2 separate regions of the Homo sapiens genome follow, and region 1 is linked to region 2. The links are contacts of gene promoters, found by promoter capture Hi-C in blood cells and fetal thymus (Javierre and others, 2016). All regions are on one chromosome and are shown on one strand. Each heading gives the region's core, a stretch centred on a gene start or on the middle of the fragment in contact. The rest is flanking DNA. Distances are from core to core; before and after follow the strand shown.

Region 1 (6,020 bases), core at 1-2,500, 520 kb before region 2:
TGTCATGTTGAACTATTATTAATGAAGCTTAGAGATGTGAATAGTTTGGCCAAGGTCACAAAGCCAGTAAAATTGAGAGATAGAACCGCTAAAAGATCGTTCCAGGTTTAATTTTCCATGCCTCTAACTTGAGTGCTAATGGGTACAGGTAACCCCATAGTAGGGGATGCATGAGATGGCAAAACACTGCCAGCAGCACTTCCAGAGACAGCACCACCCAGCGCTGATTGCCTGGAACACTGGTCTTAACATTTTTTGCTCATGTAACCCCCTAAGAAAACTCCCAACTTTTTTTTTTTTTTTTTTTTTTTTTGAGCCGGCGTTTTGCTCGTCACCCAGGCTGGAGTGCAATGGCGTGATCTCGGGTCACGGCAACCTCCGCCTCCCAGGTTCAAGCGATTCTCCTGCCTCAGCCTCCCAAGCAGCTGGGATTACAAGCATGCACCACCACGCCCAGGTAATTTTTTGGATTTTTTTTTTTTTTTAATTGATCATTCTTGGGTGTTTCTCAATTTTTTGGATTTTTAGTAGAGACAGGGTTTCACCATGTTGGCCAGGCTGGTCTCAAACTCCTGACCTCAAGTGACCTGCTCACCTCAAGTGATCTGCCCACCTCGGCCTCCCAAAGTGCTGGGATTACAGGCATGAGACACTGCTCCCAGCCGAAAACTTAACTTTTAAAGTTAACGTATAAGATTATTCATCATATTTTAAAGTTGCTCAGAATTCATTTTCTGGCATAGTGTAAATATTGACTTTTTAAAATAAAACTGTTACATTGTTTTTTGAAATGTATCAAGTGGTATGTAAATACCTTAATGAATTGATAATTACCACCATCCATCTTTAAAATAGCAAGTTATTTAATATTTGAAAATTTTACATTTTCCCTTTTATTCATTGAACTTGGATTTCCATTCCACTTCTGCCATAGAATTAATGTAATAGATTTGTATGTTTTTAAAAGTGTTATTGGTCATCTTATAAGTCTCAGCAAAAAGTATGTAAATAAGTTAAAGTTTAATAAATTTTTATTGTGACTGAAGCTCTAAGTGTATAAAAATTTTTCTTCTGGAGTGAATTATCATTAAGTTTATTAGTAATGCTACATTGGTAACAGGAACATAAATATAATTTTTATAAAGAATTATACATAAATTTTTCTTGAATTGCGTTTTTTTTTTTTGAGAAGGGTCTCACTCTGTTGCCCAGCCTGGAATGCAGTGGCGCAATCTCGGCTCACTGCAACCTCCGCCTCCCGAGTTCAAGTGATCCTCCCACCTCAGCCTCCCCAGTAGCTGGGACTACAGGTGCACGCCAGCACGCCCAGCTAAGTTTTGTATTTTTAGTAGAGACGGGTTTTACCATGTTGGCCAGGCTGATCTCGAACTCCTGACCTCAGGTGATCTGCCTGCCTCAGCCTCCCAAAGTGCTGGGATTACAGGCGTGAGCCACCACGCCCAGCCAATGAATTGCATCTCTAAATGAGATGAATGGTGTTGGTTTTTGTCATTAGCATATATCTGTAGATGAATATATATGATTTACTGCTAAAGCGTGATAGAATTCAGCATCAGTTTTAGTCCTGTTTTTTGTTTGTTTGTTTTAGTAATGTTGGTCATCTTTGAACTCTTTCCAAGTTATATGCCCCAAATCACACTGATCTAAAGCCAAAAATTATTTTTTGTTCCCTTATTTTCATTCAAAGCAAATAATTGAAAATTACCTGACCTGCAACCTAATCATATTAAGAAAATTTCTCAACTGTTGGGAGTTACCAAAACAAAAGTTTTACCAAGACTTATCAAGTGTGAGCCAGGCACGGTGGCTCATGCCTGTAATCCCAGCACTTTGAGAGGCTGAGGCAGGTGGATGGCCTGAGGTCAGGAGTTCGAGACCAGCCTGGCCAACATAGTAAAACCCCGTCTCTACTAAAAATACAAAAAATTACCTGGGCATGGTGGCGGGCACCTGTAATCCCAGCTACTGGGGAGGCTGAGGCAGGAGAATCTCTTGAACCCAGGAGGCGGAGGTTGCAGTGAGCCAAGATCGTGCCATTGCACTCCAGCCTGGACAACAAGAGCAAAACTCCATCTCAAAAGAAAAAAAGACTTATCAAGGGATAATTTCACTTCTTATTCTTTCACTTAGGCACTTTGTTTAACCCAGAATACTCAGAATGGTTGGAGACATCTGAGTATTGCTTATTTCATTCACCTTTGCCAATACAGTACTTTTTGACAAAAATACTTTTAGTTTATCATGTATTTCAAATCCATTTTCATCAAATACTTAGCTGCAGTTTGGGCTCATTTAATTTACGGAAAATGGCCATCAAGCTAATGGCACATCTTAGGGTTGTGAATATTGACTGGTTGAACATAATTACATAGATTTGTAGGGAGAAAAATTTAATTTTCTAAATTTAGGACACCCAAGCAGAGGGTTAGAGACCACCCCTCTGCCCCAAGACCAAGCTTAACTGAATACCATAAAGCAGTAAAAGGCTGGTCTTCATGTTTTTGATTACTTAATCATCAAGGGCGACACCACCTCCATTTGGTGTATGGAACCTAGGGCACCCCAGGTCACCGTATCAAGAGGAAGACAGGTTATGGAGTGAGTTGCCCTTCTTTAGAGGGAGGAGAAAGAGTGCCTGTGAAACTTGAAAATCTGGAAATTGAGTTCCTTAAAACATCTGGGCATACCTAGCTTTGGCAAGACTGCTGTATATGTATTCCAATTTCAAGACCACTAGATGATAGAACTGGGCTTGGTGTCTTCTTTAAAGATAAATCTTTACAAATTGCTTTTATGGTTATTGCTGTCTTCAGAGTTTCTCCCTTCTCTTGATGAAGTTTTACAAGTTTTATTTCCTTTGCCAATCATCCATTACAGTTTTAAAATTTATAAATATAATACATAGGCTTCTCTCGAAATATAAAAATAATTATACTGGCCAGACATGGTGGCTCACGCCTGTAATCCTAGCACTTTGGGATGCCAAGGCGGGCGGATCACCTGAGGTTGGAAGTTCGAGACCAGCCTGACCAAAATGGAGAAACCCCGTCTCTACTAAAAATACAAAATTAGCCAGGCGTGGTGGCGCATGCCTGTAATCCCAGCTACTCGGGAGTCTGAAACAAGAGAATTGCTTGAGCTCAGGAGGCGAAGGTTGCAGTGAGCCGAGATGGCGCCATTGCACTCCAGCTTGGGCAACAAGAGTGAAACAACATCTCAAAAAAAAAAAAAAATTATACCACCCCCAACGAAATGCTTTACTTAAGCCACTTTTAACCCTCTCCACAACCAAGGTGAAATGCTTAGGCTGTTTCTTCTTGCCCAGCAGCTCTCCCCCTACCTTCTTGGGTTTTGCTGAGATAATTTTGAATTTTTAGTCCCAGGATGTCTCAGTATTTATTTAAGACCTTTACTACAAGTTCACGGCCATAATATTATCGTTCAGATTTAACTGTAATTAACTATATAAAAATATAGTACGTATAAATATGCTCTTTAATTGTCCATATTAATCAATGCTGGTGAAATAAAACAGGTAAAGGATTAGTATCCAAAATATACAGGTCAGTAAGACAAAGGCAAGCAATTCAACACGAAAGTCAATTGAGCAAGCAATTCACAGAAGAAATACTAGCAGAGAATAAACAGAAGTTATTTAACCTCAGTAGTAATTGGACAGCTGCAAACCAAAAACAATACGATCCCCCGCCCCCATTCCAATTGGCAAATATTTCCAAGACAATGTAAACGCGCGCGCGCGCCCGGGTGAGGGCCGCGCTTCGCACCTGGGACTTTCCTGCCAGGACTCTTACTTTGGGATCTAAACTTTTAGTTTCTAGGATACCAGCTTACTGGGTTTCAGAGAGCATTTGGCCAGCACGTATAGATATCTGATGATAATTGCACACAGTCTTTATTACACCCTCAAGGCAATGCGACAAGATAATGGGAGTTGAAATGGAACTCTCTGAATTCATTTGACTCCAACGGTTTTCCTTACCAAAAAACAAAGTGTGCGTAAAACCTAAAATTGTCCACTAGTAGCGGACGAAAGATCGGCAACAAGAATTTGAGCCTGGAGCTGAGGGGAAGATGCTTCCCTGCAGGCACCCGGCTGGCACTATCCGGCAAGAGAGAAGGCTGGAAAAGCCTTCTGGGCGGGGTGCGCATCCTCCTCCGTCCGGGACAGAGGGTGCAAAATGGCGCCCACCAGCTCCGTAGGAGAGGCCTTGAGCTGGACTCGCCCAATAGGAATGTTTGGGGGCGGGACGCTTTCCCAGCACGCCCTCTAAGAGCTTGGGGCAGGGCTTCCTGTAGGTAGCGCCCTTCCATTGGTCAAAAATGGAACCGGGGTTGCGGGAGAAGCCAAACGCGGCGAGTCTTGCTAAAGCCGTCGCCGTAGCAACGCGCGGAGCCGTCTGGGAGAGGCCTCTGGAGCAGGAGGCCCAGTGGCTCTTCTGACCCAAGGCCCCGCCGTCCAGGTAGGGGGCTGTGGCCTCTAGGGATCAGGGACTACTTACCTGCGAATCCCGGTTGCCCGCCCGCCAGCACGTCCGTTCCCTAAGCAGACCGCCTGGCCTCCTGCCTGACCCGTCTTCTCACCGTTGCCCGGAGTCTGACCTCCCCACGCTCAGTCCACTAACGAAGCTATCCCTGCTCCTGCCCCACAGCTTCTAAGTGCCAGATGATGGAGGAGCGTGCCAACCTGATGCACATGATGAAACTCAGCATCAAGGTGTTGCTCCAGTCGGCTCTGAGCCTGGGCCGCAGCCTGGATGCGGACCATGCCCCCTTGCAGCAGTTCTTTGTAGTGATGGAGCACTGCCTCAAACATGGGCTGAAAGGTGAGCCTGAGGGGGCGTTTGGGAGCGTGGAAGTTCGGGCTGGGTGTTTGCTCAGCATTTTTTCATCAGCGCCAGACATCCTTCTAGATGCTGAAATGCCAGCAGTGTACAGAACAGGCAAGGTTCCTGTATTCAGAAGCGACGTCCTAGAGCAGCGCTGGCCAATAGAAATAGCATGCAAGCTATATAGGCAATTTTAAAGTTTCTGGTAGCCAGGTTACTTTAAAAGCGTTAGATGAGGCTGGGCGCGGTGGCTCACGCCTGTAATCCCAGCACTTTGGGAGGCCAAGGCGGGCGGATCACGAGGTCAGGATATCGAGACCATCCTGGCTAACACGGTGAAACCCGGTCTCTACTAAAAAAAAAAAATACAAAAAATTAGCTGGGCGTGGTAGCGGGCGCCTGTAGTCCCAGCTACTCGGGAGGCTGAGGCAGGAGAATGGCGTGATCCCGGGAGGCGGAGGTTGCAGTGAGCTGAGATCGCGCCACTGCACTCCAGCTTGGGCAACAGAGCAAGACTCCGTCTCAAAAAAAAAAAAAAAAAAGAAAAAAGAAAAAAAAGTGTTAGATGAGATGCCTTTCTGTGGGGATAAAACTTTTAAAAATTAAGAAAAAAAAGTTAACCTAATTTGCTAAAATGTTTTAAAATTAGTGTTAATAATATATTTCATGGAACCCGTATATCCAAAATATCATTCAACACATATTCAATATTTAAAAGCCTTATTAGGCCAGGCGCGGTGGCTCACGCCTTGTAATCCCAGCACCTTGGGAGGCCGAGACGGAAGGATCGCTTGAGCTCAGGAGCTGGAGACCACCCTGGCCAACATGGTGAAACCCTGCCTCTGCTAACAACACAAAAATTAGCCGGGCGTGGTGGCGCATGCCTGTAATCCCAGCTACTCGAGTGGCTGAGGCAGGAGAATCTCTTGAACCCAGGAGGCGGAGGTTGCAGTGAGCTGAGATTGCACCATTGCACTCCAACCAAGGCTACAGGGTGAGATTCCATCTCAAAAATAAATAAATAAATAAATTAATTAATTAATTAAAACAGATGCAAAGGTTCTGAGTGGGACCAACCTTCCTCAGCTTGAGAAAGACTCCAGGTAACAGGTGTGCTAAGTGTGCTGAGGGAGAGGAGGGGAGGACATGAGG
Region 2 (5,895 bases), core at 2,928-5,427:
AGGAAAAACACGGTATGTAAAAACATGTCATAAGCTGTAAAGTTCAACATAAATATAATTTATTATATACATCCCCTTTTCTCTTGCCAGCCTATTTATGTTAAAATTTGATTTTTAGAGCCTCCAGCTCTTTCTGAATGTTCAGAGACCCTGCTCCCATGATCATATATCCTTTTTCTCTGAATATTTTGAAATCTGTGTCCAATAGCCCCTGCCTTTGCTGTTATGAATTCAAACATTACATGACCCCTTTCACCCAAATCCTGTTTTCGCATCAATCTCCTCCACTGTTCATGAGAATTTCTAAAAACCGATTTCAGATTCATTAAAGGAACCATTAAAGGCTTCGTCTAATAGGATTACATTTTTAAACATGAAAACCTAAGATTCACTTTTTTGAGTTTTATTGTATCCCTAAGCAAGTTAGCAAAACAAGATTTATTATTTGGTAAAATTATTCTCTAAGGCTGTAACATCCAATCCTGAAAATTTCTATGCAAAGCAAGAAGTGGCCGATACTAAACTCTTCCCCACCAGCACATCTGCATACATAATCACATCATCAACACAGGGCTTTCTCCTCTCCCAACCCCCACTCTGGGGCCAAACAAAAAGTTAGTGTGCACACACATAAAGCACATTTACAATGTCTGCTCCACAGCAGACCCTAGCTAGGCTGCTCCGCAAAGGTACTAAATATTTTGCTCCTAGTTCTAAGCTCACCATTTGAGTAAGTAATAAGAAAGCAACCGTGATCTGTGCATAAATACAAGACATGTTCCTTCAAAACTCCGTTTCTAAACACGAATTCTTTACCAGTTAAAATATAAAATGTGTTAGCCCCAGGCAAATGATTCTACACCCACCAATGCATTCGACTTAATGACAAAGACATATTTTTAAAGTACACTTGTTTATAAGATATCTCATAAAGTATACTACGTAAAGTATAGCACTTGCCAAAATATACTTTTAAAATACCAAAGTGCCTAAGAAAAAAATTGACTATTTGCTCTTTAAAGGGATAGGACAAATAAATGTTATTCAGAAATTCACACGTGCCAAACTGATAGTAGCACTGCAAAGCGAACAGGAAGGTTTCTAGTTTCATAAATCAATCCACAGCTTCAAAATGAGCCATCAGGTTCAACTCTAGGAAAACTATAAAGTTCTTTTGTCTTTATGTTCATTTCTATCAAACACCCTCAAAACAAATTTTCATGAATTTCACGTATTGGCCACAGCTGTTTTTCCACCAGGACCTGTCTGATAACTTTGTGTGTAATCTGAGCATTACTTTGCTTAGTGTCAACGTGCAGTAAGTCCTCAATAAACATGTCAAGAATTCTCCTCAATTCAAAATTATAAGAGCATCAAGGTCATAAAGATGCACTATTTTTTCTAAAACTAAAAAATTGTTAAACTCATTAAATCAAGATTATAATGTAAAATACCCAAGTATTCCAATTTTAAATCATTTTCTTAACACGAATAATTTTAACAGATTTATATCACCATTTCTGTTTCTAAAATAAATTCCTAAGTTCCTACTGCAACAGCAGAAGATTTAGATTTCATATAAACCCATAGGTTTAGAAACTACTGACAGGTAGGCTAACTTACAAAGATCCCAGCAGAAGCTATGCTTCATAGAGACGGATTTTTTTAAATCTGTTTTGTTCACTGCTGTTGCCTCTCCTTCACCAATGCCTTGACTGAGACTGGGCACACAGGATTTCAATTAATATTTGCTGGACTGAAAAACTGCGTATGTGTGAAGACCCTTGGTACAAAGCCAGACTTAAACCACCTGTAGGATCCCCCACCCTCACCCCCACCCCGAGAAAACCTGGAGCAAGCCCCTGTGGGACGGACACAGAATGACCCCTAGGGAATCAAGGAAAGGGAGGCTAAAACTCAAGGGGACTGACTTCACACCCAGTCTTCACACACTGCCCAAATGTGTTCATTTTGTTGCAGTGTCTGAAATCTCACCAACTGAGAGATTCCTCTAGGTTAACAAATCTCCTCTTTTCAGAATTAAGGAACCGTTTAAACCTGTCAACAACCTTAAGAGATGTACATTTCATCATTCCATTTTACAGATGAGCAAACAGGCTAAATGGCAGAGTTACTTTTACAGTGTCACACAATGGACGTAAAGCACAGGCCTGACTCAGAACCTTTAATCCTACAATGCTGCCTCCCCACTGAGAGGGGAACAGGACTAATCTTCATCCATACCTCAATACACATGAGTTAGTTTCCAATACCCTTCTACAGAAACACCTAAAACAAGCTTTCTCAAAGACGGGGCTTTTGTTTGGGGTGACAGGCAAGCAACAAGTAGCTGAAGCACACGAACACCGTGGAGGAAGGATCTGAAGTTCAGACCATGGATTTGGGGTGCCTGATGGAACCAAGCCTCAAAGACAAACCACAGATTTCACAACACTGCAGAGGACCAGCTCTTGCTCCACAACAGCTTGCCTCCCCTTCCTCTTTCTACCCTTCCACGTGACCCTCACGGTTCTCTCCACCAGAAAAGAGGCTACCATTGTTAGTTGCCAGTCTGGCAACACTGTGCATCTCAACCACAGTGACTGGCACAGAGCAGGAACGCAAATATTTACTGAATGAACCCAAGACAAAAGTTGTTTCTACGGCCAAGCTGGGACCCTAACTGCCATTTTTAACACAGTAGAGATGAGATATGCACCTTAAGCACCTGATTACTGGTGTAAAACGGACTTTTCAAAGCCTAGTCTGAGTTGCGGACAGGCTACAGTAAAAGCCTTATGTGATTATTTTTCCCCAGCCAGACTGTCTCAAAGAAGAAAACAGCTTAGCACTTTGGCATACAAATACAGACCTCAGAGGGGCATAATATGTTAGTATCTTAAGAGTGTACAAGCAAATCATGACTTTATTTAGGTTGCCTACTTTAGGTCATCCTAACATGAACAGCAGTTTAGAAAAGAAAAATCCCCTCTCAGCATTCTCAGGGTGACAATGAGGGTGGGGATAATGGCAGATATCTCCCAAAAGTTCAGCGTGGGCCAAAACCCAAAAAATCATATTCCACGATGTGCAAAAGGTTTCTTTCAAACCATGACTAATAATTTAAACAAATACATGTTTACACCAAATAATCAACTAAACAAAGTCCTTGTTCATAGGAAAACATGACATTAAGCCGAATGGTTTCAAAGACAATTCTTGAAAATTTTACCTATTTCCCTTTTGGTCGGCACCCGTGACCTGAAAAGCCTTGGCTAGTAGTTCCGATTAGTGTCAGATCCTCATAATGTGACATTTTCAGGCGTCAAATTACAGTAAAACTACTAGGGCAAGAACAAGAGCCAAAAGCAACAGGGAAGATGTCCATTTTCCATTTACACCCCCCCCCCAATTTACCACTTAAGAAAAACGGCACGTTTTTATATTAGAAAAGGGCCGCATCCTTCCAGATCTAGCGCAGCCTTAAGTCCGTGATTTGAGGAACCTGCCGCTTCCAAAATACAGGCTGAGACGTCCTCCCCATGAAGTAGTTTTGCGCTCTTGCACCACCTCCTTTGTCTACGCTGTCCCTGCAAACTCCTAGCTCAATGCCCTCCAGCAAACGAGCTGCCTGAACGCAAAGATGACCGTTCCAAGTCTTTTTTAAAAGAAGGGAAAAACCCAGTCACGCTCCTGGAGCCTGGTTCCCACGGGAGCAGGCCGGGCTGTCCACGACGGAAGCCTCGACCCTGGCTGGGGCTGTCGGCCGGGCAGCGCGGGAGAGCCAGGGCCAGAGCCGGGGCCGGGAACCCTAGTCCCGCCGCCTACGCGGGATGCAGCGACCACCGCCCGCCGCCCCCGGGCCGGCACTCACCTCCGTGGAGGGGCAGCGGCGCCAGCACCTGGCCGCGGACCTCGGCCTTGGGGGAGTCAAGCCCGTAGCGCCCGCGGTCGATGCGAAACGTGAGCGGGGCGCCGCGGCCGGGCTCCTGCACCGTCACGTTGATGAGCGCCGTGTAGTACTCCTGGCTCGCGTTGTCTGCCCGTGCCGGCCACAGGCTGCAGGTCAGCAGGGCGAGCGCGGCGAGCCGGGCAGGGCCCGCCCGCCCCGCGCAGCTCATCGTCCCTCCGGCAGCCGCCGCTGCTCGCGGACCGGGCTCCGGGGCCGGCGCCTAGAGGCGGGGCGGGCGCGGCCCGGGCGGCGGCGGGAGCGCGCGCGCGCGGCCTGCGCGGGGCCGAGCCCGAGCGCGGCCCTCCTGGACGCCGCGGCCCCGCCGCTCGCCGCCCTCACGTCCACTGCCCGCCTGTGGGGACGCGCCCATGGGCCCTCGGCGAGGGCGGCGTCTCAGGTCGCACGCGGGCGTCTCTTCGGGGTCCCAGGAGGGTTGTAGAAGCGTGCCCCCTCCATCCCCCCGGGTCGGTCCCACCGAATGGGAGGCGCCTCGCAAGGACGCGGCGGGGGAGGGGAAGGGCGGCACGGGAGGAAGCGCCCCGAGGAGGGTCAGCGGAACACAAAGTCCCTCTCGCGCGGCTGCCGCCTGAGGCGCGTGTCCGCCGCCGCCCCGCCCCCCCGCTGGTCTAGCGGCAACGCGCAGGCCTAAGGCGCAGTCCCGCCCCGAGCGCATGCGTGCCAGGGCCTGTCCGCTCCCGCCCGCCTGCACGAGGGCCCGGGCAGCCGGGTCAGCCGCTGGTGCTGGTTGTTTCTCTGTCAGGCGTGATAGCCGCAGGGCGTGGAGCCCGGGAGATTTGCGAGGACGTATGGAAATGTGTGAGAACAGACTACAAAGGAAAAAAAGCCATAACTTTAAAAGAAATGTTTAAAATTAAATGTCATGAGATTTAACATTCACGTCATGCGGTTGACATCATGGATGGGGGATGTCTCTGGCCCGGACCTGCAGGGACACGAGTGGTTGGGAAAGACCTCTAGGGTAGCCGTCCCTAACCATTTTGGCACTGGGGGACGGGTTTCCAGGAAGAGAGTTTTTCCAGGGACTGAGGGAGTTGAAGTGGTTTCCGGATGAGGCTGCTCCACCTCAGATCATCAGGCGTTAGATTCTCGTAAGAAGTGGGCAACCTAGGTCCCAAGCATGCGCAGTTCACAGCCGGGTTCACGTTGCTATGAGAGTCTAATGCCGCCCTGATCTGACAGGAGGCGGAGCTCAGGCGGTGATGCTCACTCACCTCCTGCTCGCTTACTGGTTCCTCGAAGGCCCTGGGCCGGTACAGGTCCGCGGCCGGGCGGTTGGGGAGCCCCTGCTCTAGTGACTAGGTGAACTACTCCAGGGGCCCCCGGACCAGAGGGTTGCAGTGGGAACCCCCCCTCCACCTTCCGAAACGCGCGCGCGCGCACACACACACGACTCTCATTTTCTCTCTCCATGGCGTTTAAAAGATACACATCGCTATAAAGTATCAGCTAAAAGGAAGAATGGGGCAGTGCAGCCGAATTCAGGAACTTACAGGATCTTTGTGGGGAGGCGGAGGGGGAAAGTTTGGCGTCTTCTGACCAGCCAGGGTTGAGTCTCCTGTCTCCTACTGCGGGAAGTGGGTGGAGTCAGCTTTGCACAACCAAATGTTCTGAAAATCCGGAAAAGAGGTGGCTCCCCAAAAAGAAATTTGAGGCACTGTTTCCAGGAAAGGGTACGGATGCAGTGCAGGCTAAAACTTAAGATGCCCACCACTGGCCAGGCGCGGTGGCTCACGCCCGTAATCGCAGCACTTTGGGAGGCCTAGGTGGGCGGATCACGAGGTCAGGAGTTCGAGACCAGCTTGGCCAACATGGTGAAACCCCGTCTCTACTAAAAATAAAAAAATTAGTCGTGGTGATGCGTGCCTGTAGTCCCAGCTACTCGGGAGGCTGAGGCAGGAGAATCGTTGGAACCCGGGAAGCGG

What was found. The method cuts DNA at HindIII sites, captures the fragments that hold promoters and counts their contacts. A CHiCAGO score of 5 or more calls a contact.
Region 1: a fragment that was not itself captured here is called in contact with the fragment with the promoter of RNF130 in region 2 in 3 of 17 cell types (neutrophils, non-activated CD4 T cells and monocytes); the score reaches 6.9 in neutrophils.

What each region holds. Positions count from the first base shown.
Region 1 is chr5:179,555,334-179,561,353 of GRCh38, forward strand. RUFY1 (RUN and FYVE domain containing 1) reads left to right here. Exons shown (of 18, transcript NM_025158.5): 2 at 4,692-4,865. All of the region lies in intron 4 of LOC128966623 (a long non-coding RNA gene), which reads left to right. Among named protein-coding and RNA genes, the nearest start is that of RUFY1, 7.8 kb to the left of the region's middle. RefSeq lists a silencer at 306-482 and an enhancer at 4,100-4,219. The HindIII fragment of the contact is 2,450 bases long and covers 26-2,475 here.
Region 2 is chr5:180,067,582-180,073,476 of GRCh38, forward strand. It overlaps RNF130 (ring finger protein 130), which reads right to left and starts at 4,178. Exons shown (of 9, transcript NM_018434.6): 1 at 3,875-4,178. The coding sequence starts at 4,121. RefSeq lists an enhancer at 3,852-4,559 and a silencer at 4,449-4,528. The HindIII fragment of the contact is 6,319 bases long and covers 2,298-5,895 here.